7 separate regions of the Homo sapiens genome follow, and regions 1, 2, 3, 4, 5 and 6 are each linked to region 7. Evidence: promoter capture Hi-C in 16 types of primary human blood cells and fetal thymus (Javierre and others, 2016). All regions are on one chromosome and are shown on one strand. The core of a region is centred on a gene start or on the middle of the fragment in contact, and the rest is flanking DNA. Distances in the headings are between cores, read along the strand shown.

What was found. Contacts are between HindIII fragments. The CHiCAGO score rates a contact against its expected background, and 5 or more counts as called.
Region 1: a contact is called between a fragment that was not itself captured here and the fragment with the promoter of GAN in region 7, in 1 of 17 cell types (neutrophils). The highest score is 6.2, in neutrophils.
Region 2: a contact is called between a fragment that was not itself captured here and the fragment with the promoter of GAN in region 7, in 8 of 17 cell types (neutrophils, total CD8 T cells, naive CD8 T cells and 5 more). The highest score is 9.7, in neutrophils.
Region 3: a fragment that was not itself captured here is called in contact with the fragment with the promoter of GAN in region 7 in 10 of 17 cell types (neutrophils, naive CD4 T cells, M1 macrophages and 7 more); the score reaches 10.5 in neutrophils.
Region 4: a contact is called between a fragment that was not itself captured here and the fragment with the promoter of GAN in region 7, in 1 of 17 cell types (neutrophils). The highest score is 8.6, in neutrophils.
Region 5: a fragment that was not itself captured here is called in contact with the fragment with the promoter of GAN in region 7 in 3 of 17 cell types (fetal thymus, neutrophils and monocytes); the score reaches 10.8 in fetal thymus.
Region 6: a fragment that was not itself captured here is called in contact with the fragment with the promoter of GAN in region 7 in 16 of 17 cell types (naive CD4 T cells, non-activated CD4 T cells, naive CD8 T cells and 13 more); the score reaches 34.1 in naive CD4 T cells.

Annotation. Positions count from the first base shown.
Region 1 is chr16:81,814,765-81,817,999 of GRCh38, forward strand. The region is part of intron 2 of PLCG2 (phospholipase C gamma 2); the gene reads left to right. Among named protein-coding and RNA genes, the nearest start is that of PLCG2, 37 kb to the left of the region's middle. RefSeq lists enhancers at 554-603, 2,587-2,636. The HindIII fragment of the contact is 5,740 bases long and covers 1-3,235 here.
Region 2 is chr16:81,761,374-81,764,686 of GRCh38, forward strand. The region is part of intron 3 of LOC105369213 (a long non-coding RNA gene); the gene reads left to right. It also overlaps a transcript of PLCG2 not described here. Among named protein-coding and RNA genes, the nearest start is that of PLCG2, 16 kb to the right of the region's middle. The HindIII fragment of the contact is 3,806 bases long and covers 110-3,313 here.
Region 3 is chr16:81,704,426-81,707,999 of GRCh38, forward strand. CMIP (c-Maf inducing protein) reads left to right here. Exons shown (of 21, transcript NM_198390.3): 19 at 1,074-1,179; 20 at 2,589-2,659. Among named protein-coding and RNA genes, the nearest start is that of PLCG2, 73 kb to the right of the region's middle. RefSeq lists an enhancer at 255-756. The HindIII fragment of the contact is 6,739 bases long and covers 1-3,574 here.
Region 4 is chr16:81,664,113-81,667,676 of GRCh38, forward strand. It overlaps CMIP (c-Maf inducing protein), which reads left to right. Exons shown (of 21, transcript NM_198390.3): 7 at 157-237. LOC100129617 (a long non-coding RNA gene) reads left to right here and starts at 1,242. Exons shown (of 1, transcript NR_045112.1): 1 at 1,242-3,164. The HindIII fragment of the contact is 2,087 bases long and covers 1,019-3,105 here.
Region 5 is chr16:81,782,002-81,785,346 of GRCh38, forward strand. All of the region lies in intron 1 of PLCG2 (phospholipase C gamma 2), which reads left to right. Among named protein-coding and RNA genes, the nearest start is that of PLCG2, 4.4 kb to the left of the region's middle. The HindIII fragment of the contact is 1,317 bases long and covers 631-1,947 here.
Region 6 is chr16:81,741,594-81,745,285 of GRCh38, forward strand. All of the region lies in intron 2 of LOC105369213 (a long non-coding RNA gene), which reads left to right. It also overlaps a transcript of PLCG2 not described here. Among named protein-coding and RNA genes, the nearest start is that of PLCG2, 36 kb to the right of the region's middle. The HindIII fragment of the contact is 6,269 bases long and covers 1-3,692 here.
Region 7 is chr16:81,313,094-81,316,573 of GRCh38, forward strand. GAN (gigaxonin) reads left to right here and starts at 1,869. Exons shown (of 11, transcript NM_022041.4): 1 at 1,869-2,187. The coding sequence starts at 2,021. RefSeq lists an enhancer at 1,706-1,905 and silencers at 1,916-2,255, 2,396-2,455, 2,476-2,745. The HindIII fragment of the contact is 5,241 bases long and covers 1-2,961 here.

The sequences.
Region 1 (3,235 bases), core at 726-3,225, 500 kb after region 7:
TTGTCCTGTCTCACTGTTCCCTTGCTGTGTGACCACAGGGAGTTAACCTCTCTGAACCTTAGTTTCTTTGTCTCTGCAGTGGGGATTATGATGATCCTCTCCCCATAGAGTTGGGATAAAGATTAAATGAGCCAATACACATTAGGTTTGTAGCACAGGGTTTGTCTAGAGTAAGTGCTGACTAAACGTCAGCTGCTGGAGATGGTGGCGATAAGAAGTTACTTTTATTATTATCAGGACTGCTTGTTCCAGTGGCTGTTCCAGCCTGACAAATCTTCCAAGGCAAAACCAGAGTTGCTGAAGTTAACTTTTAAACATTTCCTTTTTTTCCTGAGTTATGGAAGGAATGATAATTGGGGAATTTAGGCTTAAAATGAAGCACCTGTGATATGACGCTCTGGAACGCCTCTTCATGCAGAGGGTGGTTATGCGAAGGGAGGAGGTTTTATTGCATATGGGGCCTTACTGGACAGTGAAGGGAGGGGGTTCCCAGCTCTCCCTGGTGGGCCCAGGCTAGAGCATGGGTCTCCCAGTCCTCACCAAGGGGTCTCAGCCTCAGCAGGTTGGCAGCCACACAACACAGTGAGATCCTTCTGTGTAGCTGAGCCTCTGATTCCCAGAGGTGAAGATACAGTCTTAGAGTGTATCCCAGGGACCCTGTCTTTCCAGCGGGAAACTGCAGGGGCTGAGAGACCACCCCCTAGAGGCTTCCTCATTTGCATCTTTAACACTGCCATGGTTGGGGGCTGTTTTCTTCTTCAGCCTGCCCTGCCTGGGCTCTGTTGACTACTCAGCCTGTTGTTCTGAAGTTCTCCTGGCCCTTTCAGAGGCCATGGGGGCTCAAAAGCCACTCAGAACACAAGTCCCTCTTCAGCTGCTGGGAGTCTGAGCATGGGAAAATCCTGCCTGATTTTTTCCAGTTCCCATGCAGGTGGTGGCTTCTTCGATTCTCGCGGTCTTCTTGGTGGAAACCTTTGTAGGTCTTAAGTGCGCTATAATTGAGCAGTCTTAAATGACCAGACACAGTGGCTCACGCCTGTAATCCCAGCACTTTGGGAGGCCAAGGTGGGCGGATCACTTGAGGTCAGGAGTTCGAGACCAGCCCGGCCAACATTGTGAAACCCCGTTTTTTACTAAAAATACAAAAATTAGCCAGGCATGGTGACTTGCGCCTGTAATCCTGGCTACTCAGGAGGCTGAGGCAAGAGAATTGCTTGAACCCGGGAGGTGGAGGTTGCGGTGAGCCGAGATTGTGCCACTGCACTTCAGCCTGGGTGACAGAGCATGACTTCATCTTTAAAAAAAAAAAAAAATGTGCCTTCACGGACAGGCACGATGGCTTATGCCGGTAATCCCAGCACTTTGGGAGGCTGAGGCAGGAGGATCACTTGAGGTCAGGAGTTCGAGACCAGCCTGGCCAATATGGTGAAACTCTGCCTCTACTAAAAATATAAAAATTAGCTGGGTGTGGCAGCACATGCCTGTAATCCCAGCTACTTGGGAGGCAGAGGTGGGAGAATTGCTTGAACCTGGGAGATGGAAGTTACAGTGAGTCCAAATCGTGCCACTACACTCCAGCCTGGGCAACAGAGTAAGGCCCTGTCTCAAAAAACAAATAAATTAGGCTTCAGATACTGAACTATCTGGCATATCCTATTTTGGGACCATGAAAAGGGTGACCTGGCAAGTCTGAGAAGGAGACCTTTTCCCTCATTATAATTTTTTTTTTTTGAGACACGGTCTCATTCTGTTGCCCAGGTTGGAGTGCCATGGTGCAATCACAGCTCAACTACTGCCTTGACCTCCTGGGCTCAAATGATCCTCCTCCCTCAGCCTCACAAGTAGCTGGGACTACAGGCATGCACCACCATGCCCAGCTAATTTTAATTTTTTTTTTTTTTTTTTTTTTTTTTTTTTAGTAGAGGTGGGATCTCACTATGTTGTCTAGGCTGGTCTTAAACTCCTGGGCTAAAGCAGTCCTCGCATTTCAGCCTCCCAAAATGCTGGGATTACAGGCATTAGCCACGGTGCCCAGCCAGAAATTATGACTTACTCCCAAGGTCCTGATGTCCAGAAGCAAGAACTGAAAGTGCGGTTGCGCTGTTATCATTAGTGGGAAAACACTCAGGCACCTGGGGCCACATCCGGTTCTGCCTCTTTCTAGCTGGTCTAGAGTCTTCTCTGAGCTGGGCTTTTTTTCCTATGCCCATTGCACAGTTACCCATTTATTGCCCAGAAGGTGACGGGCACTGGATGCGTTAGATGCTGGGGAAATAGAGGCACAACCATCACAGTGTCCTTCTTGTGAGTTTTGAAGGCTGGTGGGGAGAGACGGATGGTAAACAGGGAGGTGAAGACAAAGCCCTCTCTTTACAAGCGAAGTCAGCACAAGGGACAGGAAGAGCGCACATGATGGGTGGTCAGAAAAGGCCTCTCTGAGGAGCTGATATTTAGGCCGAGATCCGATGGGAAGAATCCTCTAGGTGGAGAAGGACTATGCATCCATCCCCCATGTATAAAATGGGAATAATATTAGTACCTGTGCCGTGAGGCAGTTGTGAAGGTAAAATGAATTAGTGCGTGTGAAGCACCTATCTTCCACTAAAAACAGAAAGCTGTTTTAGATGTTGATATTACTATTATTATTTTTGAGAAGGAGTTTCGCTTTTGTTGCGCACGCTGGAGTGCATCGTCTTGAGGGGTGCTGCGCAAGGCACTAGGGTGGTTTTAAACGCCTTTTGTCAGCTGTGTTTGGTGTTGCTACAGCTTCAGTAAACACAAGTGATAAAACAAGAGCCCTCAAACTGCACCTGGCCTTCCAGAAGATGACAAAGATGTATGTAGAACATCAGAGGGTACCTTGTGATTATTTTATTTTATCTATTTATTTTTAAAATTTCAAGTAGAGATAGGGTCTCACTGTGTTGCCCAGGCTGGTCTAAAACTCCCAGACTCAAGCGACCCCCATGCCCTTGGCCTCTCAGAGAGCTGGGGTTACAGGCATAAGCCCCTGCACTCGGTTGTGATTCTTTCACTTAACACATTTATTGATAAGTTATTACATGTCAGGCCCAGGCCAGGGTAGGCAAAAATGAGACAAGCTCCCTGTGCTTATGAACATGTTCTCACGTTCCTTACTGTTTCGGGGAGAAGGGGGTTAAGTGAACACTTGGGGTTGAGAGCAAAGACCCAAAGGAGAAGACAGATTCTGGGAGGGAAGGGGCAAGATTAGAGA
Region 2 (3,313 bases), core at 763-3,262, 450 kb after region 7:
AATAATAGTAATGATAATACTTAAATGTAAGTGTATTGTAATTATGAAAGTGTAATTCTTCTGATTATAACACAGTACATGGGTGAGAGGTGACGCGTTGTAATGGTTAAGCTTGGGCAGCAGCCTGGGAGCTGACTGCCTAGGTTAGAGTCATATGTCTTTCCCTCGGCTAGCCTTTCAAACTTGACCATGGCTCGAACTTCATTATGCCCCAGTTTCCTCCTTTGTAAAATGGGGATCAAAATAGAACACCCCTCATGGGTTGGGCTGAGGATGGGATGAGTTAACAGACATAAGGCTTAGAACCATATCTAGCTCATTGTATTTGCTATGTAGTTGTTTGCTCTTCTCATTTTTCCAATCTTTTATTATAAAAATTTTAAAACATACAGAAAAGTAAAAAGGGTTGTATAGCAAGCATCCATCTAGTCACTACCTATGATTTCACCCTGCACATTTTTTTTTTTTTTTTTTTGCGCATGGAGTCTTGTTCTGTCACCCAGGCTGGAGTGCAGTGGTGTGATCTCGGCTCACTCTAACCTCTGCCTCCTAGGTTCAAGTGATTCTCCTGCCTCAGTTTCCCAAGTAGTTGGGACTACAGGCATGCACCACCACGCCCAGCTACTTTTTGTATTTTTTAGTAGAGATGGGGTTTCCCTATGTGGTGGCTAGGGTTGTCTGGAACTCCTGACCTCAGGTGACCTGTGTACCTCGTCCTCCCAAAGTGCTCAGATTACAGGCATGAGCCACCACGCATGGCCCCTGAACATTTACTCTGTTTGCTTTGTCACATCTGTCTATGCCTCTTTCCAATTATTAATGCATGTTAATTTTAATGCATTTCAAAGTAATGGCAAATGCATACATATGTTGCTATTATTTTTTTAAAAAGAAACTGTCAACTGTTAAAATGGTCTGGGCATGGTGGCTCACGCCTGTAATCCCAGCACTTTGGGAGGTCAAGGTAGGCGGATCACCTGAGGTCAGGAGTTCAAGACCAGCCTGGCCAACATGGGAATATCCTGTCTCTACTAAAAACACAAAAATTAGCCTGGTGTGATGGCATGCTCCTATAGTCCCAGGTACTCGGGAGGCTGAGGCATGAGAATCGCTTGATCCTGGTAGGTGGAGGTTACAGTGAGCCAAGATTGCATCACTGCATTCCAGCCTGGGCAATAGAGTGAGACTCCGTCTCAAAAAAAAAAAAAGTGTATAAAATTGTCTGTATTTTCCTTTAACATAAGGAACAGAGTCCTATAGATGAAACAGAATCATTAGGTTGAGGGGAGAGTGAAAAGGCAGGCCAAGGGACTTCCTGACAATGGGAAAAGCCTGAGCAAAAGAATACACCACTGCAATATCCCCCCAAGTCCCCAAGGCTGGCTGATCAGGCAGAGCCCCTTCAAATGGGCATTAAAAATACTTGCTAATCCCAAGGTTTTGGGTGGCCAAGGCAGGAGGATCACTTGAGGCCAGGAGTTTAAGATCAGCCTCAGCAACATAGTGAAACCTCACCTCTACAAACAAATTTTTAATTAGCGGGAATGGTAGCACATGCCTGTAGTCCCAGCTACTCAGGAGACTGAGGCAGGAGGATCCCTTAAGCCCAGGAGTTAAAGGCTGCAGTGAGATATGATCATGCCACTGTATTCTAGCCTGGGCAACAGAGTGAGACCCTGTCTCTTAAAAATAATTAAATCAACAAAAAATAAGATAAAATACAAAAGATAAAAATACTTGCTTGCTCAGATTTGATTTAGAGGAGACTGAAGAAGAGGCCTTACAGAAGGCAAAGAAGGAAAGTTCCAGATGGGAGAACCCAGCCTCTCCTCCACTGCCGCAGATGATTCTGCTGTAGCCCAGATTTGCAAGCTCCACTCAGCAAAATAATCTCCCTGTATCAGTCATCCATTGCTGCATAACAGATGACTCCAAAATGCAGTGGCCTAAAGCAACAATAACTCAGATTTTCTCATGGTTTCTGTGGGTCGGGTATTTGGGAGTGGCTGGGAAGTTCCAGCTCTCTGCAAGGTCTCTTGTCCAGCTGCAGGTGGATGCCAACTTGGGCTGGGGCCATCTCCAAGGTGTCCTCCCTCTCACGGCCTGTGCCTGGGCTGGGAAGATGTGAGCAGAGGTGAACTTTACAGGTGAGGCTCCCCGGGCACCTCTCCAGCATGGTGAGGTCAGGGTAGCTGGTCTTCTAACGTCATCTTGGGGCTCCTAAGTTGTGTGCCTCAAGCCAGGCAGAAGCTGTCACACATTGTCCCTTTTACTACATTCTATTGAGGCAGCTATAAAAAGTTACAAAGGGGGCCGGGTGTGGTGGCTCATGCCTGTAATCCCAGCACTTTGGGAGGCTGAGGTGGGTGGATCACCTGAGGTCTGGAGTTCGAGACCAGCCTGGCCAACATGGTGAAACCCCATCTCTACTAAAAATAGAAAAATTAGCTGGGCGTGGTGGCAGGCACTTGTAATCTCAGCTACTCGGGAGGCTGAGGCATGAGAGTCGCTTGAACCCAGGAGTCGGAGGTTTCAGTGAGCCAAGATTTTGCCACTGCACTCCAGCCTGGGCGACAGAGAGACTCTGTCTCAAAAAACAAAAACAAAAACAAACAAAAAATAGTTACGAAGTTCTGAGGCTGGGTGCAGTGGTTCAAGCCTGTAATCCCAGCACTTTGGGAGGCTGAGGCAGGAGGATTGCTTAAGCCCAGGAGTTCGAGACCAGCCTGGGTAACATGGTGAGACCCCATTTCTATAAAAAATTTAAAAAATTAGCCAGGTGTGATGGTGTGAGCCTGTATCCCTAGCTACTCCGGAGGCTGAGTGGGAGGATTGCTGGAGCCCAGGAGGTCGAGGCTGGAGTAAGCTGTGATTGATTGAGCCACTGTACTGCACCCTGGGGGACAGAGTGAGATCCTGTCTCAAAATAAATAAATAAATAAGTAATAAAAAGTGAAAAGTTACAAAGATCTGGCAGATTCAAGGAAAGGAAACCTGGACCCCATCTCTCCATGGACGAATGTCAATGTGACAGTGTAGAAGAGCATGTGGGATGGAGGAAGAATCAGGGGATGTGTCTTTGGAAAGTGCAATTGCCCACAGCTGGCATCTGAATAGATTCACTCTCCTCAAAGACACTTTTGCGACACTGATCACTGGCCAAGCGTGCCCCGTGCAGGTCTCACCCTCCAGCCCATGCAGTTGTCTTTCAGCCACAGGCTGAACACTGGCCATCCCAGCTGTGTCAGAGGACTTTGGCAAGCCTAATTTTCTCCATCTTTTTTATTACCTTGTGGACCAGGTTGAACAGTGT
Region 3 (3,574 bases), core at 705-3,204, 390 kb after region 7:
CCCTCCTCCCTGCCCCCTCCCCCTCCCCTACCCACTTACCCTCCTCCCTGCCCCCTCACCCTCCTCCCTGCCCCCTCACCCTCCTCTCTTTCCCCTCACCCTCCTCCCTGCCCACTCACCCTCCTCCCTGCCCCCTCACCCCCCCACCCACTCACCCTCCTCCCTGCCCCCTCACCCTCCTCCCTGTCCCCCTTACTCTCCTCCCTGTCCCCTCACCCTCCTCCCTAACTCGTTCACCCTCCTCCCTACCCCTTCATCCTCCTCCCTGCCCCCGTCACCCTCCTCCCTGCCCCCTCACCCTCCTCCCTGCCCCTCACCCGCTTCCCTGCCTACACCCCAGGCATTGCTTACCACACGACCCTTCCCTCAAGCTCAGCACCCACTCCCTGAGGCTAGAGGAGGTTGAGGACCTCATGAAGCCCTGCAGCCCATTTCCCATTTGGAAATAATGTGCCCAGTTCCGAGTCCTGAGGTTCTGAGAGGTAGAGCTGAGACGTGAGCCAGGCTTCGCTGGCCTGCGGGGGGCTGCGCAGGAGGCTTCTGGGTCTTTTTGTTATAGTAACACCAGTGGCTGCTGAGTCCCAGCTCAGTGTGAACTGCACTGCTCAGTACTCTGCACAGGGCAGATGAAGGGGCCTTCACTGCACACCTGTGAAGTGCAGGTTCTACCCTCACCCTAATTTTCCAGAGGAGAAACTGGGGACAGTCCCTGCAGCCTGCCCCCGGCCCAGCCCTGTCCTTCCACTGTCCACCCAGCAGGAGAAAGCCACCTAGGCAGCATCTCGAAGCTAGGGAGAGACAAGTTCAAAGCCCTCCTTCATGGAGGCAAAACTGACTCCAAGGGGGCCCTGGCCTGGCTCCACTCCCAACAGCAGAAGCTGGATTCTAACCCGGTTCAGAGAGGCGTGGGATTGTTTAGGGGACGTGAACGCAGCCCAGACCCCAGGGCTTGGTGGGCCATGGGCCTCAGAGCCAGGCTCTGTCCCCATCCCTTTCCTCCACCTCTGCCCCAGCCTCAGAGTCACTTCCCCAGGAGTGGCCGGGAGAGGGCTGAGAGTTTCTGTGCTCTACAGTTTGGAGACGCTGGCCTTCGGCTCCTGTCGGAACACCTCACCATGCTCCAGGTGCTGAACCTGTGCGAGACCCCGGTCACAGACGCTGGCCTGCTGGCCCTGAGCTGTGAGTGCCTCCGGGGCAGCTGGGGGGTGAGGGGCCGCTTGATTCATTCCTTCCTTGCTTCAGCCAAACTGGCCAAGCACTGACTTTGCACCATGCACAGATAGAGAAATTCGTTCATTCACAAACGTGTTCACTGCACACCTGCTGTGGACCAGGCACCATTCCATGTGCCAGGAACAACACAGGGAAAAATATCCCTAACCTCAGAGAGCTTATATTCTAGAGGCAATAGAAAAAATGAGTAAGGCCAGCCCATAGCCTCTTGACACTCACAGTCCACTGAGGGGTCGAGTTCAAGGACGGGGCTGTAGTACATTGCCACTGTGGTCCCCTGACCAGTGGTGGCAGCGTCTTCTGGGGGCTGGTCAGAAATGTACATTCCCAAGCCCACTCCAGACCTCCTGACTCAGACACCGTACGGTAAGCAGATGCCTGGGAGGCTCCCGTGCCCGTTGACATTTGAGAAGCCCTGTCATAATAGAAGGAGGCACAGAATTCTCAAGGAACCTAGAAAGGCCAGTTCCTGTGTGCCAAACCCCAGGTGACTGAACTAGCCTCAGGGATATTGAGCCCGGGATTCTGTATTTGACCAGCTTTCCCTTTTCCAGGCCCACTGCTTTAGACGGGAAGACCCGTGGCTCAGTGGGAAGAGTCAGAAAAGGCTTCCCGGGGAGGTGCTGTTGAGTCTGGGTGTGAAGACAGATTTGTGGGAGTTGGCCAAGGGGGAGGCACCCTGAGCAGGGGCCATGACTCCTACCGGGCCGCTGGCAAATGCTGGGTGGCTTGGGAGGAGGTGGGAGCAGGTGACTGGGTCAGTGGAGGCAGAGCGGCAGCGCTCGGCCAGTTTGGCTGCAAATGCAGATGCGCTGCTTCCACTGGAGTCCCCCGGGGGGGCGCGGTCCTCATCAACAGCACAGATTCCTGGTCCCTGCTGCGGCCCTGCTCAGCGTCTCTGGGAGTGGGTGGAGGGGTCTGCCCCCCGTGCGACTCCAACACAAACCAGAGGTTGAGGCTTGCTTTCAAGAAGCAGCACCGAGTCAATGACGACGGGGGGACCATCCGGGGTTCCCTTAGTGGGGAGGCCTCGGGCCTGATCTGGGGTGTGGCAGGCAAGCTCTGGGGACATCAGGTCCAGGCAGTGGGGGCACACGACAGAGGGACCAGAAGGGAGGGAGGCTCAGAGGGTGGGAAGAAAACGAAGGCTCTGTTCAGACCAGCACGTGCCTGAAATAGACTTTCGGTGTCTAGTGGGCCACCTACCCTGGCTGTGTCTACGAAACCTCCCTCCCCAGCCCCATCTCCTAACAGGGGGCCTGGCACCTGCATTGAGCTCCTCCAGCTTGGCCATCCCATACCTTCATACCTTTGGGGCCTCGCTCTCCTAACAACTGTATCTGTCTCTTGTGCAGCCATGAAGAGTCTCTGCAGTTTAAACATGAACAGCACCAAGCTCTCAGCTGACACCTACGAAGATCTGAAGGTAATTCCCTCCTTCCTCCCCACTCTCCTCCCCTCCTTCTTCTAGCCAGCATCTGGATGCTGGTGCATCTCCTGCACAGAGCTCGTTCTCCAGTAAAGGATGATGACATCTACAGATCAATACATAAAATAATGGCAGATCAAAAAGAGTGACAAAGAGGAAGCAGCAGGGAAGTAATTGGAAATAGGAAGGCCTGTGTGGCCTGGGGTGATCAGGGATGGTGCCTTTGATGAAGAGGCCGCAGGAGCTGAGACCCAAAACATAAGAAGCCAGAAATACCAAGGGCGAGAGGAAAAGCAAGTGCCAAGGTCCTGAGACAGAAGAGATGGGCGAGGCCTGGCTTTGCAGCAAATGTAACCAGGAACTGAGAGAGGGAATGGGCTGGGGCCGGATGGAAAAAGCCCTCACAGGTCACAGCAGAGCAGCGAGTCATGCTTTTCAAAGCATGCTCTGGCTGTTAGGAAATAAATATTTTGAGAGGGAGCAGGAGTAGAAGCAGGGAGGGTTGAGCAGGGCTGGTGCCTCACCACTGAGGGCTGCGCTGCACCGGCACTAGGCCAGCAAGTGAAATCCGGGAAAGAAAAAGGATCGGAGGGTGGAAGGCAGGGGCGTTTTAAGAAACACACGTGCACATCTTGGGAAGGTTGGAGGAGCCAGGCCCTCAGTCGCCTCCTGTCACCCCGTCCTCCTGGGCCTGTACCAGCTGCCCCAGAAGGAGCGGGCGGGACTGGCAGAGGGCCAGCATCCTGGGAGAGAAGGGCTGGGCTCAAAGGTGAGAAGGCACAGATGGCACCCGTGAGCCACGCTGGCACCTTCGTGCTCTGGAAGCTACTTAGAGGGAATCCCCCGGCAGCCCTTGGCCGGGGCCCACCTCCTACAGCCAGGCCTCCTGCCGCCAGGGCGTGCTCACTGGGG
Region 4 (3,564 bases), core at 812-3,311, 350 kb after region 7:
AAAATAAACTCATTTTTAGAAAGCAGTGCAGCCGTGTTCATCAAGGGAACCCAGGCACCCACAGCTGGGCTGACTGTCCCCAGCCCTGCTAGCAGCCACGGGCTGTGTTCAGAACATTCTTAGGGCCGCAGTAACTGTACCCCACTCTGTCCCCAGCACTGCAGAGAGCGGCCCCGGTCCATGGTGGTCATCGAGGTGTTCACCCCCGTGGTGCAGCGAATCCTCAAGCATAACATGGTGAGTCACCCTGCCCCAACACCCAGACCCCAGCGCCCAGAACATGAGGCCCCGCGCGCCTCCCTGGCCTTTTGCGTTGGCACAGATTTGGGGAATGTGGTTGGCCCAGCGTGACAGCCAGGAACTGGGGTTGAGATTCTGGTTAAGGACTTTTGGGGGTTTTGTACAGCTTGTCCTCCATTACGGCAACAGGAAGAATCTTTTTGCAGTTCCTAAGAATTACAAAAATACCGCAGCTGGAGGAGAAGAGGAAAGCCTCCCGGGAAGAATAGGCCCAAATAATGTCTGTAGATGCCCTGCCCTCAAGGACCCAGAGCGCGACTTTGCACTCCTTTAGTGTGTGCTGCGCACAGCGAGGTCCTTCCAGAGAGCACTGTATGGAAGGGGGCAGGAGTAGCCTTGCAGTGGAGAAACCAGACACACTCAGCCTCAGCCAGGTGATCAAGGTCAACATCGACAACAACAAGCCAGTTAGACAGAATATTCCCTTCATAGGACGTATAAAAACGACACTTGACCTCTATGGTCTTCCTCCCAGTAACCCATCACCCCATTCCAATCATGAGAAAAACATCAGACAAATCCCAACAAGGGGACAGTCTACAAAGTACCTGGCCAGTACTCCCCACGGTCAAGGTCATCAAAAACAAGGAGATTCTAAGAAACTGTCACAGCTCAGAGGAGTCTACGGGGGCGTAACGACTAAATGTCATTTGGGGCTCTCCATGGGATCCCAGAACAGAAAAGGGACATGAAGGGAAAACTGAGGAAATCTGAATAAAGCTTGGCCTTTAATTTTTTTTTTTAAATACAAAAGCAGGATTTAATTGCACACTTAGAGCGGGTGGGGCGCTTGTAATCTGTGTGGCCCCTTGGTGTTCCCTCATCATTCCAGGGACAGCAGCAAATGCCATTATTTGCCCTGTATGTCACGAGGAAACTGAGGCTTAGCTAGGTCCACTAAGTGGCCACAGGGACCACAGGTAGGAATAAGAATAACATCTTTTTGCAGATGCTTATTGAACACTTTCTTGGAGTCAAGAGTGTGGTGCTCTTTGAGTGTATTGTGTTATTAACCCTCATGCCATTCCCATGACACCTGTGCATAGGAGGAATCTGGGACCCAGAGAGGTGGGACGGGATAGGCAGGGTCTGATGAGCAGCTGTGGGTGGTCCTGGTGGGAGCTAAGGAGCAGGCAGCCTGAGGCCAGGGCCCATTCCCAATCACATGTTGTACTGAGCCAGCCACCACGTTAGATTTTAGAGTCTCCTGGAGCACGTGAAAACAACTGAAAAAGGGTAACCACACATCATTTCACTTGTGATGTAGCTTGCCTGTCTCCACACCATGCCCCTGAAGAATAGTATATCACCTACAGCCCCTTCCCCAGTCAGGAATGGAAGTGCATGACACATGTGCTCCTCTACCCCTTCCATGCTCATGGCAGACATCATTAATCAATTATAGCACTCTTTCTGTAGAGCCAGAGACAGCATCACACTCTTTCCCCTCCTGCATTCCAGGCCACCACTACCAACTGAAATCGTGTTAGTACCATAATGAATGCTATGTACCATTCTCTACCCTAAGCGATTGCAAACTGTAAATGAATTGTTGCTGATTTCTGAGCCCCTCCTAGATTTGGGGTAAATTCATTTCTTGTTTTCAGAACACAGGGGATAGGGACACCCTGTGCAGTTCTTTCTCCAGGACAAGGAGACTCCCCACTGGGGGATGGGGCGGGGTTTCTGCCTTAATTTGGGCGCTCATAGTTTCAAGGAGGAGCTCTTTCTGGCTTTGGCCAGCTAGAAGGAAAGGTGCCCTGTTTGTTAACTTTAAAATCACTACGGGTGTAGTGTATGGAGTGGGCTGTGCCATGCTGGAGTTCAGAGCAAAGGTTCTTCAGGTTTTCTTGCGAAGGACCTTAACTTGTCAATGGCAGAGCCACACCCCCGGGACATACTTGGCAGAGGAATGCCTCTTCAGGCACATAAACATTTTTGCATACTCCATGTTAGTCAATAAACCGTTTCATAAGGGTTCTTTGAGGACATCTGACTTCAAAGGGAAAAAATTCATAATTCAGACAGGCTCTCGGGGCTTCACCATACAACGCCTTTCTTGTATTTGGTTAGTTTTATGGGCCTGGAGTGTTGACCATGTATTAATTTTCTCTATAAAAATCAGAACCGCTCTGGGCAGACCCAGAATTTATAGTATCTGTGGCAGTCTGGCAGAGAGTAGGGACCCTCAGCCATGAGTCCTCGCCTCACTTGTAACGAGTACCCCCTAAGTGATCCCAGGTGTCTGGGGATGCTTTAACGCACCCAGATCCCACCTTGCTCTTGGCGCCTCCTAATTACACACCATGAGCGGCGGCGGCAGAGGAGAACTGCTGGGAGGACCGAGGAGGATCCGCCTCTCGTGTAGAAGAACAGACTGTATTAAACAGTGATTATGGCCATGCCAGGCACAGGAAGACCTGACCTCATGGAATCCTAACAACACAGGCGGTGGGCGAGAGAGAGCTTTGACATTTACTCACTGAATGCGCCCTGATGCTTAATGAGTGGCACGGGTCAGCAGCACCGTTGTGGAGCTGGGGCTCTCAGCTGGTGTGGGGGGGGGGTCATGTCTCTGGCTAAGGAGCGTACCTAGCCTGCCTAAGCCATGAGCCTGTTGGGGTGGCATGAACAGTGACTGCTCTTCACCCCAAATGCAGTGTTTCTCCTTAAGGAGGCACTCAGACATTTAGGAAACGGGGGGAACGTAGCCACGGTGCTGTTCTGGGATTTGGGGGCTCCCCCATTCTGGGTGCATCTCTTGCAAATATGTTATGTGCTCCCTTTCACGGATGAGCAAACTGAAGCTTTGAGAGTCTCAAAGAATGTTCTTTACTAGACTGAAATAAAAACTAGAAACAAAAGGAAGCGGTTCTTTAGTATGTTCCTCTGGAGATTCAGTCCAAATAATTCGCCAAACTGCGTTCTGAAGAATGACCATGTATCTCTGTGCCCCCACGCCACTCGGAGTGTTCTTGTGGCAAAGGAGGCGAGAAGACACGGCTGTGGTCCCCAGTGGACCGTCAAGTAACCTAACCTCCAGTTTTCCAAGGGGAGCGTATTTTTCAGAGGCTGCTGGATCCCTCTGTAAATGTTTATTTCCATGGAAATGACCTTGATTATTCAAAAATCTAATAGCTAAGATGACAGTTACCTTAAGTCTCTGTTGAAGCAGTTTACAAAATCATAAAACCCTCGTGGTGGAAGGGGGCTAGAGATCACTTCTGTGGACCCTCATTCCATAGTGGGGTCAGTGAGGCCCAG
Region 5 (3,345 bases), core at 39-2,538, 470 kb after region 7:
GCTGGGATTACAGGCATGTGCCACCACACCCGGCTAATTGTTTTGTATTTTTTTTTAGTAGAGACGGGGTTTCATCGTGTTAGCCAGGATGGTCTTGATCTCCTGACCTCATGATCCGCCCACCTCGGCCTCCCAAAGTGCTGGAATTACAGTCATAAGCCACCGTGCCTGGCCCATTTTATGCCTTTCTAAATAAGCTTATGAGATACAAGAACATGAATGAGCTTATGAGATACAAGAAAAACCTTTAGAAGGACATGAAATGTAAAAATGGCAAAAATCAGTTATTCAAACTCAGCCATATTTGTATTTACAAAATAAGTCATTTTATAGAATTACCCATTAAGAATGGGAAACAGGAACAAAAAAGGGATTTCAAGGCTTTTTTTTTTCTTTTTTTGAAAAAACCAAAAAAAGCAGAAGCAAAATGGAAGTTGCTGTGGTGGCTGGTGCTCTCTCCTGGGCTCAAGGTCTTGGAGACCTCCCTGCCATAGTTGATAAAGCGTGGAACGCTGGAGACCTGAGCTGGGTGCTGGCAGGATTTGAATGGTGGACTCCAGGGATCTTTTGGCCGTGAAGATCTGTTTCCAATTGCATCTCATAAGCTCATTCATGTTCTTGTATCTCACAAGCTTATTTAGAAGGGCATTTCGTGAGATACAAGAACCCCAAACCAGAAATCAAGGAAGTTTTTCTCTTCAGTGCTCTGTGCATGTTAAGCCAGTACAGGATTTCATCCAAAATCCCACAAAACGATTCTGTTAAAATGGGGCACAGGCAAATACTTGAGTGGTAAGGGCCCCTCCAACAGTTGAATGGACATTACTGCTGCACCTTACACCCACCCTGCAGCATCAGAGGGGATACAGTGTTTTCAAAGGAACGGTGTCAGCCACTGCAGGTGAGAGTGTAAATTCCACCCCTGCTCCTTTAGGGCAACCTGTGAGCAGCTATTACAAAGCAATTGGTGAGACGCAGCATGGAAGTCTGGTGTTTATGGCTGAGTTGATCCACTGGGCTTCGAAGCTGGAAGTAACTGGGACCCTGGGGAAGGTTAAGTCCAAGGCCCTCCCAGAGTGAGGGCTGGAAAGAACTGAGGAGCCTGGTCCCTTGTCCTGGTTTCTGTCTAATTGAAGGTGTTATAATGGGGCTTGTGTTTCCTACTTATGTTCCAGTGGACTATGGCCTAGAGACCTGGGAGTGGGGAACTCCAGGATGCATGGCTGGGAACAGTCAACATAGTGAAGAGCTCTGTGGTTGGCAGCTGGGTCAAATCCAGTTTCAGCTACTTTTTTAAAATTTTATTATTATATTATTATTATGCTTTAAGTTTTAGGGTACATGTGCACAACGTGCAGGTTTGTTACATATATATACACGTGCCATGTTGGTGTGCTGCACCCATTAACTCGTTTTGCTACTTTCTATCTGTGTGACCTCGGATAAGTCCCTTAACCTCTTTTGAGAGTGGCAAGTACTGGCAAATCAGTTAATATCTGGCCAGATGCTGCCACAGGATTCTGGACTAGGGGCTTGGGACTCAGGTGAGGGTTTTGATCTTTGTGCTGCTGCTGGTCTACATGACTTTGATCAAGTAATGTGACCTCTTGGGATTTCAGTTTTCCGCTGCCGTATTTCCCATTGAGATAAATGAGACGAACCAGACACAACAGGTGCTTGGCACCTGGGGAAGGGCCCAATAAATGGCTGCTTAACAAGGATGAAATGGACCATGGGGGCACCTTGTTCATCCCTTTGTCCTGGCTAATGATCAGGAGGTCATTTTGGGTTTCTCCTGATAAGGTAAGATGCACATTAACTCTCAGCAGGGTTTTTTTTTAGCATACTCTGTTCTGCCTCCTAGCCTTTGCTTAAACTTAAAGCCAGTTCCTCCTGCTTCATCTTTTTTGAAAGATTGAGTTCAGATGCCTGCTTTTTTCCCCTGAAAGCTTTTTCTGAGCCCTTTAAGTGCCTAGCCACACTCCAGATTAAATTTAGGATTCCTTCTTGCTGCTCTCTGCCCGCCGTGCCCCCAGTGCATGCTTCTGCTGCTGCACTTGTAACTACATTAGAATTCTCAGTTGATTAGTCTGTTTCCCCATGGGCAGAGAGCAGGTGTAATTATCTCCTGCTGCTGGCATGGCTGACCGAGGAGGTCCCTTTGGTATGGGTGTGCAGTAGAGGGAGGTGGGGGCAAAGGGCAAATCCTGGGCCCCTCCCCATTCCCCTCATTTGCATCCTAGTCCCCACCTCAGTGCCTGGCATAGAGTTGACATTTGATTAATGCCTTCCCCAATGGCTGATTAATGCTAACTGAGACCCTGGTAAATGCTGCAGGCTGTGCATACATTGTAGCTTTTTGTCTTCCCAGCTGCCCCTTGTGGGCATTTAACCTCCATTTTACAGATGAGGGAACCGAGCCACAGATTTAGAGCAGCTTGGCAGAAGGCTGAGCCCGGCTGGAAGCACAGACAGCCCTGGCTGAACACCAGCCTCTCACTCCTCCTTCTTTGGATCCTGGGAGGGTCTCTCTAGTGCTACTCTGTAACCTTGAGAGCTACAGAGTAACAACTCCAGGCACCTCCAGGGACTTGGAGGGAAAGGAGGAGATAAGAAACAGAACAAATAATGGTAATTTTAACAATAGCTTAATCTAAGGAGTGCTGACTTTGTATCATTGTTTTAAGGGCCTGAGATACATTATCTTGTTTAAGCCTTACAAAAACATTTAGATGGTGGATACTGTTACCTTCTTTTATGGGACTGGAAATGAGCCCAGAGGATCTAAGTGACTTCTTGCAGCCTAGCTGGCAAGGGGGTCCCTGGTGGTTCAGCTCCAGGGCCTGGGGAGCGCCTTCACTCTAAGTCCTATTTTGGGGGCAGGCAATGTGTTTCTGGGGATTTGGGAGGCAGAATGAGGGAATGGTACAGAGTGAGGGCTCAGGGAGGGACTAAGGGATTTTGAGCAGAGGAGTGACATGATTTGATTCATGTTCTAAAAGGATCCTTCTGGCTCTGCATCTGAGAATTGACCCTAGCAGGTCAGGGAAGAAGTGGGGAGAGCAGGATTAGAATAGTTCAAGTATGAGATCCTAGGAGGAGCCGGTGAAAGGGTGAGATGCGTTGGAAGTGGTCGTGAGAGAGTCCACGCAAGGATTCCTCCAAGGTTTTGGGCCCAAGCACCTCTCTGACACTGACCACCCACAAGCATAAACAGCAATCAAGGACACCTCCTAGGTGCTGGCCGTCACCCCAGGTGCTTTGCTGGGGCATTTCTGAACACTCCCATTTTAAAAAGGCTAAAACTGAGGCACAGAGAGGTCAAGCAGTCTACCCAGAGCTACA
Region 6 (3,692 bases), core at 1,078-3,577, 430 kb after region 7:
GAGGCCAGGAGTTCAAGACCAGCCTGGCCAACATGGTGAAACCCTGTCTCTACGAAAAATACAAAAATGAACTTGGTGTGGTGGTGCAAGCCTGTAGTCCCCAGCTCCTTGGGAGGCTGAGGCAAGAGAATCGCTTGAACCCGGGAGGCAGAGGTTGCAGTGAGCTGAGATTGTGCCACTGAACTCTAGCCTGGGCGAAGAGAGACTGTCTCAAAAAAAAAATGTATAATGATCAAATCAGAGTCATTATCATATCCATCACTTCAAACGTTTGTCATTTCTTTGTGTTGTGAACATTGAAAATCTCTTCTAGCTTTTTGAAAATATACAATAAGCCATAGTTAACCATATTCACCCTACAGTGATGCAGAACGCCAGAGCGCGTTCCTCCTACCTAGCTGAAATTTGTGTGCATTCACCAACTTCTCCCTATCCTCCCCTCCCTCCTCCCCTTCCCAGCCTCCAGTATTCAAAATTCTACTCGCTTCCTCCATGTGCTCAACATTTAAACACAGATTTTAATTGTGGTACAAAGCACACAAAAGTTACCATTGTGGGGGCGGGGGGGGGGGCGGTGTTGGCTAAAATTGAAAAGGTAGCAGAGTACCTCTCAGTCAAAAGATGACCTAGAGAGTCCATTACTCCGAGTACATAGTACCCCTGGAAAATAGGGGTTAGGTCTCATTCATGCATTCAACCTGCTAGGTGCCAGGCAGTGCTCAAGGAAGGGCCTGACTGGGATGAGACCAATGAGGGCTCCAGGTGCAGAGTTGAGGATGGTGCTGCTTCACAGGTGATGACCCTGCCTGTGTATGACTCTAAGAGTGACTGCCATCTTCCATCCTACTCCTGGGGCCCAGCCTATCTCCCTGGAGCCCCAGCCCCCATGCAGGGTGAAGGAGGGTTTAGATGACTTGGCAGAGTCTTAGTCCAGCCAGGAAAGGAACGTCCCATGCACTACCCCTGAGAAATGACTCCATCAACAGTGGTTTCAGGAGCGCTTAGTATGTGCTGGGAACTGGGGTGGACAGGAGTGACCACAGGCATCCCACTGCTTTCAGGGAGCTGGTGGGGAGAACTCAAGACAGATGATAGCACATATAATCATTTGTTACCCCACGGTGGGTGCTATGAAGGAAAGAGCCAGGTGCTACGAGACGGGAGTGAACAGGGGCCGGGAGCCTCACTTCCCATCTGGCCAGACTTCCTCAGGTTCTGGGACCCAGCTTCACAGGGCCCCTCGTCCTCCCAGCTTTGAAGTTCTTATCATTGGTCCCGCTCCTCTTGTTCTTCCAGACGTGTGAAGAGGGCCTGCTCTGTGTCATTATCAACTTGCAATAACTTAGTGTCCCATTTCATCTTTTTGGTTCTCGATACCTGCTTCACAGTTCACCTATTATGTTTTATCGACAGAAGAACCAGTCTAGCTGGGTTCGGTGGCTCATGCCTGTAGTCCCAGCACTTTGGGATGCTGAAGTGGGGGGATCACTTTAGCCCAGGAGTTTGAGACCAGCCTGGGCAACATAGTGAGTCTCTGTCTCTACTAAAAAAAGAAAAGACAGAAAAGGAAAGGAAAGAAGGAAGGAAGGAAAGGAAAGGAAGAAAAAGATAGCTGGGCATGGTGGTGCACACCTGTAGTCACAGCTACTAGCGAGGCTAAGGTGGGAGGTTCACACGAGCATGGGAGGTTGAGGCTGCAGTGAGCCACAGTAGCACCACGGCCTTCCAGTCTGGATGACAGAGACAGACCCTATCTCAAAAACAAAAACAAAACAAAAGAACCGGTGTGCTCTGTCTCTTGACTGGACCGACTGGCACAGACTTGCTGGAACACTGGTCACCCAGGCAAAGAGCCCAGGTAGAGCGACCTGCGTGGTCAAAAGCCAGGAGGCTGGAAGGAGTGAGGGACATTTCCGGAGCCAGAGGCCACAGTGGCCAGAGGGGAGTGAAAGGGGTGAGGTTGGGCTCAGGAATGGGCACCTCATGCACCCTGAGCTGATGAGAACCAGACTTAGGGCTTTTATTGGAACTGGTGGGTTAGGAGATCCTCTCTCTTGTGGATGTGAAGCCAGGAGAAAGGAAAGCTGCAGCTATGCAGGGCTCCTGTGGGAGACAGCCTGCCTGGAGGTGAGGCCCATCCCAAGGGAGGGAGAGTGGCGAGATGAAGAAAGACTAAGTCCCAATGACATTGTTGGAGCCCCTTGATCCAGCTGTGACTGTGGCCCTTGGTTTTCAGTTACATGAGGGGATAACCTCCTTTTTTTTCTTTTTCTTTTTTTTTTTAAGACAGAGTCTTGCACTGTTATCCAGGCTGGAGTGCAGTGGTACGATCTTGGCTCACTGCAACCTCCACCTCCTGGGTTCAAGCAATTCTCCTGCCTCGGCCTCCCAAGTAGCTGAGATTACAGGCATCCGCCACTGCACCCAGCTAATTTTTTGTATTTTTAGTAAAGACAGGGTTTCACTGTGTTGGCCAGGATGGTCTCAAACTCCTGACCTCGTAATCCACCCGCCTCGGCCTCCCAAAGTGCTGGGATTACAGGTGTGAGCCACCGTGCCCAGCCAACTTCCCTTTTTTTTTTTTTTTTTGTTTGAGATGGAGTCTCACTCTGTCACCAGGCTGGTGTGCAGTGGAGTGATTTTGGCTCACTGTCAGCTCCGGCTCCTGGGTTCACGCCATTCTGCCTCAGCCTCCCAAGTAGCTGGGATTACAGGTGCCCGCCACCAAGCCTGGCTAATTTTTGTATTTTTAGTAGAGACGGGGTTTCACCATATTAGCCAGGATGGTCTCAATCTCCTGACCTCTTGATCTGCCCGCCTTGCCCTCCCAAAGTGTTGGGATTACAGGCGTGAGCCACCGCACCCAGTCCCCCAACTTCCCTTTTTGATTAAAACAGATTGAGGTGACTTTTCTTCTCACTTGTAACCAAAAAAATTCCAAATCTTTTGGCACTCCATAAATAGCAGTCATGATGGTGAAGCTGGTGGGGATGATAAGGAGGCAAGTTTGTTTTTTTTAAGATAGTCGTGCTCTGTCACCCAGACCATGGCTCTCTGCAGCCTTGACCTCCTGGGCTCAAGTGATCTCCTACCTCAGCCTCTTGAGTAGCTGGGTCTACAGGCATGGGTCACCATACCCAGCTAATTTTTTTTTTACAGGCAAAGTCTCACTATGTTGCCCAGGCTGATCTTGAACTCCTGGACTCAAACAATTCTTCCGCCTCAGCCTCCCAAAGTGCTGGGATTACAGACATGAGCTACTGCTCCCAGCCCAGGAATTGGAATTTTTTAGGGCATCTGGAGAGGTGAAAAAGGGGGCCAACAGGCTGGATGCTGCAGGAAGGAAGGGGAAAGGAAGAAGGGTTGGTTTTTCTGGATTCAAAGTGTCTCATCTTAACTCCAACCCTGGACTTTAAAAATAATGTTATGCAGTGGAACCTTTTTCCTGTTGATTCCATAAACATTCAGCAAAGAATATAAGATGATTAAGTGCTGGTTGTAAATGACCTCCAGCAACGGGGCTGGGTTTTGCATCCAGGTCACTGCAGGGCTGAACTAGAAAAGGTTGTGTTGGGTAACCCAGCCCAAGATTCAATCTTAATCGGTCTAAGCCAGTGGTGGCATTCCTAGCCTCCCTCCCACTGATTGGCCGGGAAGGGCATATGACCTAGTGCTGACCCATGAGAGGTAAG
Region 7 (3,480 bases), core at 619-3,118:
GGGAAGCCAAGGTGGGCGGATCACAAGGTCAGGAGTTCGATACCAGCCTGGCCAACATGGTAAAACCCCATCTCTACTAAAGATGCAAAAGTTAGCCAGGCATGGTGGCACATGCCTGTAGTCCCAGCTACTTGGGAGGCTGAGGCAGGAGAACCACTTGAACCCGGGAGGCGGAGGTTGCAGTGAACAGAGATTGCACAACTGCACTCCAGCCTGGGCAATAGAGGGAGACTCCATCTCAAAAAAAAAAAAGAAAGAAGAAAATATTTTTCAACATCCACAAAAATATAGAAACAGTACAATGAATCTCCACATCCCCATTAAACATCCACAACAATATAGAGACAGTACAACGAATCTCCACATCCCCATTACGTGGCTTTAACAATTAGTAACTTGCGGCCACTTTTGACTCATCTACACTCCCATCTGCTTCCCCATCCCTTTGTTTTGTTTTGAAGCAAATCCTAGACATCTTTATCATTGCATCCGGGAACACTGAGCTGCATTTACAGAAGAAAGTGGAAATGCATGTGTCTTCCACAGCCGTACCCTCCCCATCTATTCTGCCCTGAAAACAGTTAGATACTCGGATTCCTGCCAGTGACTCCAAAGCCTTGGCTGGTTCAGGGTAAATACCCAAGACTTTATTGGAGCCTTTCAGTTGGTTGAAGGACAGTGAAAATTCCATCCTGTCTTGCCTGGAATGCTAGCCACATTCTTCTGGTCCGGAGTCCTCATACAATTGCTAATTTTTTAGAGGCTTATGGAGTCCCTAACGTTTGCACAAAATGGTTGCTACATTCCACACTCCCATGTGCCCTGAGCAACCTCCAGGGAAACTTCAGATACCGTGGGGCTTGGCCTGCCAGCTGAGCTGACCCAGCGATCCTTTCTATCACAGCTTTGATCTTCACTGGGTTGGGAGCCTGTCTGAATCTAAACATCTGCCTCTCTACTGCCCACCCCTTCAGCATTTCCTAGCTCTCCCTGAAAGGTGCAAACATGCATGCAGTTACTCAAACAGAATATTTATCCTTAACTCCCTCTCCCTCACAATTTCTTTTAAAACAATCCACTATTGTCTACCCCCGCCCCCGCATCACCCTTTCATCCAGGTGCCCATTCCCTTCTCTCTAGTCCTGCAATACCTAAGCATCGATCTGCCTTTAGCACATCCATCCCCGCCTTATTCTCCACGCAGGAGCTGAGTGACCTGCACAAAATCCCCTGCTAAATACGGTACTTCCATGGTTCTTCACCACTGCAGAAACCAAACTCCTTCCCACACCAAGGAGGCCCTGCAAAATTTAAGGCCTCCTTCGGACTTCTCCAGCTTCATCTGCTACATCTCCTTCCTAGCCCGCAACCAAAACCATCTTTTCCGGGTCTGTTTTCTCGGGTTTTTGTCCTCTCACCTGGGCAGCTCCTTTTCTCTCATAAATAAAGAAAGCTACAGCGACTTCGCCCTTGCTTCCATGCATCATCTCATGAGTCCACAACAACACTAAGAATTCGCTTTCATTTTGCAGACGGAGAAACTGAGGATGGGCACCTTACCCATGGCCACAGAGCTAGTAAGTGGAACAGCTGCAACCAGGATTCAAACTCGCGGCTCCAGAGGCCACAGGCTTAACCACGGAATCCTAGCCCGCCCGCACATCCCTCCATCGCGGGAGCGACCTATCTCATCCGTAGACACCTTCCGCTGCACCCAGCCGCAGCTGGTCAGGCGGGCGGAGGAAGGAGGCTTCTGATTGGCCATCTCCAGCAGCGGAGGCGAGAAGGCGGGGAGCGACGGTGCGGGGGCGTCGCGGAGAAATGACTTCATGACGCGGCTTCTTAAAGGCGCCGGCCCAGCGCGCCGCGGATAGCACAGGCACGTCCCGGGGGCTCCAGCTTCTGCTCAGAGCGCGGAGAGCCGGGCCGGGCGGGCGCGCGCGCAGGACTCGGGCCGCTCGAGGGGTCCGGCCGGACGGTGTCGGGAGCCGGACCCGTCGGCAGAGGAGCGGGCGCCGCGATGGCTGAGGGCAGTGCCGTGTCTGACCCTCAGCACGCCGCGCGTCTGCTGCGAGCGCTCAGCTCTTTCCGCGAGGAGTCTCGCTTCTGCGACGCGCACCTGGTCCTCGACGGGGAGGAGATCCCGGTGCAGAAGAACATCCTGGCGGCGGCCAGCCCGTACATCAGGTGGGGAGGGGGCTACGGCGGGCGGGCGCGGCGGTGCTGCCCGGAGCCGGAGGCGGGGCGGCCGGGCCGGGCGTGGCCCCCAGACCCTGTCCCCTGTCCCCGGCGCCGGGGTCCCCGCGTCACCGTTGGCGCGGCGTCCCTCCCGGCAAGCGCCGGAACCCGGCCCCGCTGACCGCGTCCCCCAGGCGGCCTCTGTGGCTTCCAGGCCCGCGCTCCCCACTGGACCCCCGCGCCCCTTGGAGTTGTCCCCGGACCCGGGCCGCGATCCCCCGCCTTGTCCCTCCCGGTTCCCACCGCCGCGGCGAGCGCCCGACCTCGGAGACCCTGAGGCCCCCAGACGCCGTCCTGGGCCGGCCGGGACCCGCACCTGCGGGCTGGGCGAGGCCGCGCCGGGGAAGAGTCACCCCCTCGCCCAGGCCGGGCCCGCGGTCCCCGCTGAAGTTCGCCAGTCGCTCGCCTCTGAATCCACGCGCGGGGGCTGGGCCGGCGCCGCCAACCAGGCGGGGAGCGCCCTGCCCGCTGGGAGGCCAGACAGACAGCGCCTCGCTGGGTGCAGGCAGAGAAAACCCTCTCGATGTTCTCCTTGGGTTGGTAGTCCGAACCTCCGGGCGAAATTCTCCTTGCCAAACGTGTCTTTTCCGCTCCATTCTGGTAACTGTTTAAAAGAGGAGTTACACGTTGAAGTAAACTGTAGCGAATTCTCAGGATGCTGTTACAACCCGAGGACCGTGAGAGCCTTGCGACAAAGGGCATTTTAATACTTTAGTAAAGCAAAGCTTAACCTGATTTGCCAACTCAACTAACCAGGTTAATTAAAAGGTTGATAAGACAGTGCTTATACAAGTGTATCAGATCTTGCAGGAGACTATCTTTTCTTTTAGCAACCTTCTTGCAAACTAGGTTGCTGTTTTAATAAAAGGAAAGGGGGGAATGCTAAAAACTGGAGAAACTGACCAGTAAGCTGGTTAAATATAAGCTAGTGGTAGAGAATATCACTACAATTGACAGGTCAGAAAAAGCAAAATGATGTGTATTCTTAGCGCTTTGTCCCAGCAAAACCACCACGCACGCTACACTTTTAACCTTTGCATTGGGGAGATATCTGTGCTAAACTTAGAAGAAATTCAAGTGCCCTTGTAACTTCTGGTTTCTCTTGGATTTGTTTTGTGAATCCATTTGCGCTCTTTGGCGGTGGGGAGTGTGGAGGGGTGGGGGGGCGGGGCGGCAGTAGGGTCTGGGGTAGCATCGTTAGTACAGAATTTGGATTGCTAATGTGACAGACAGCTTCTAGCT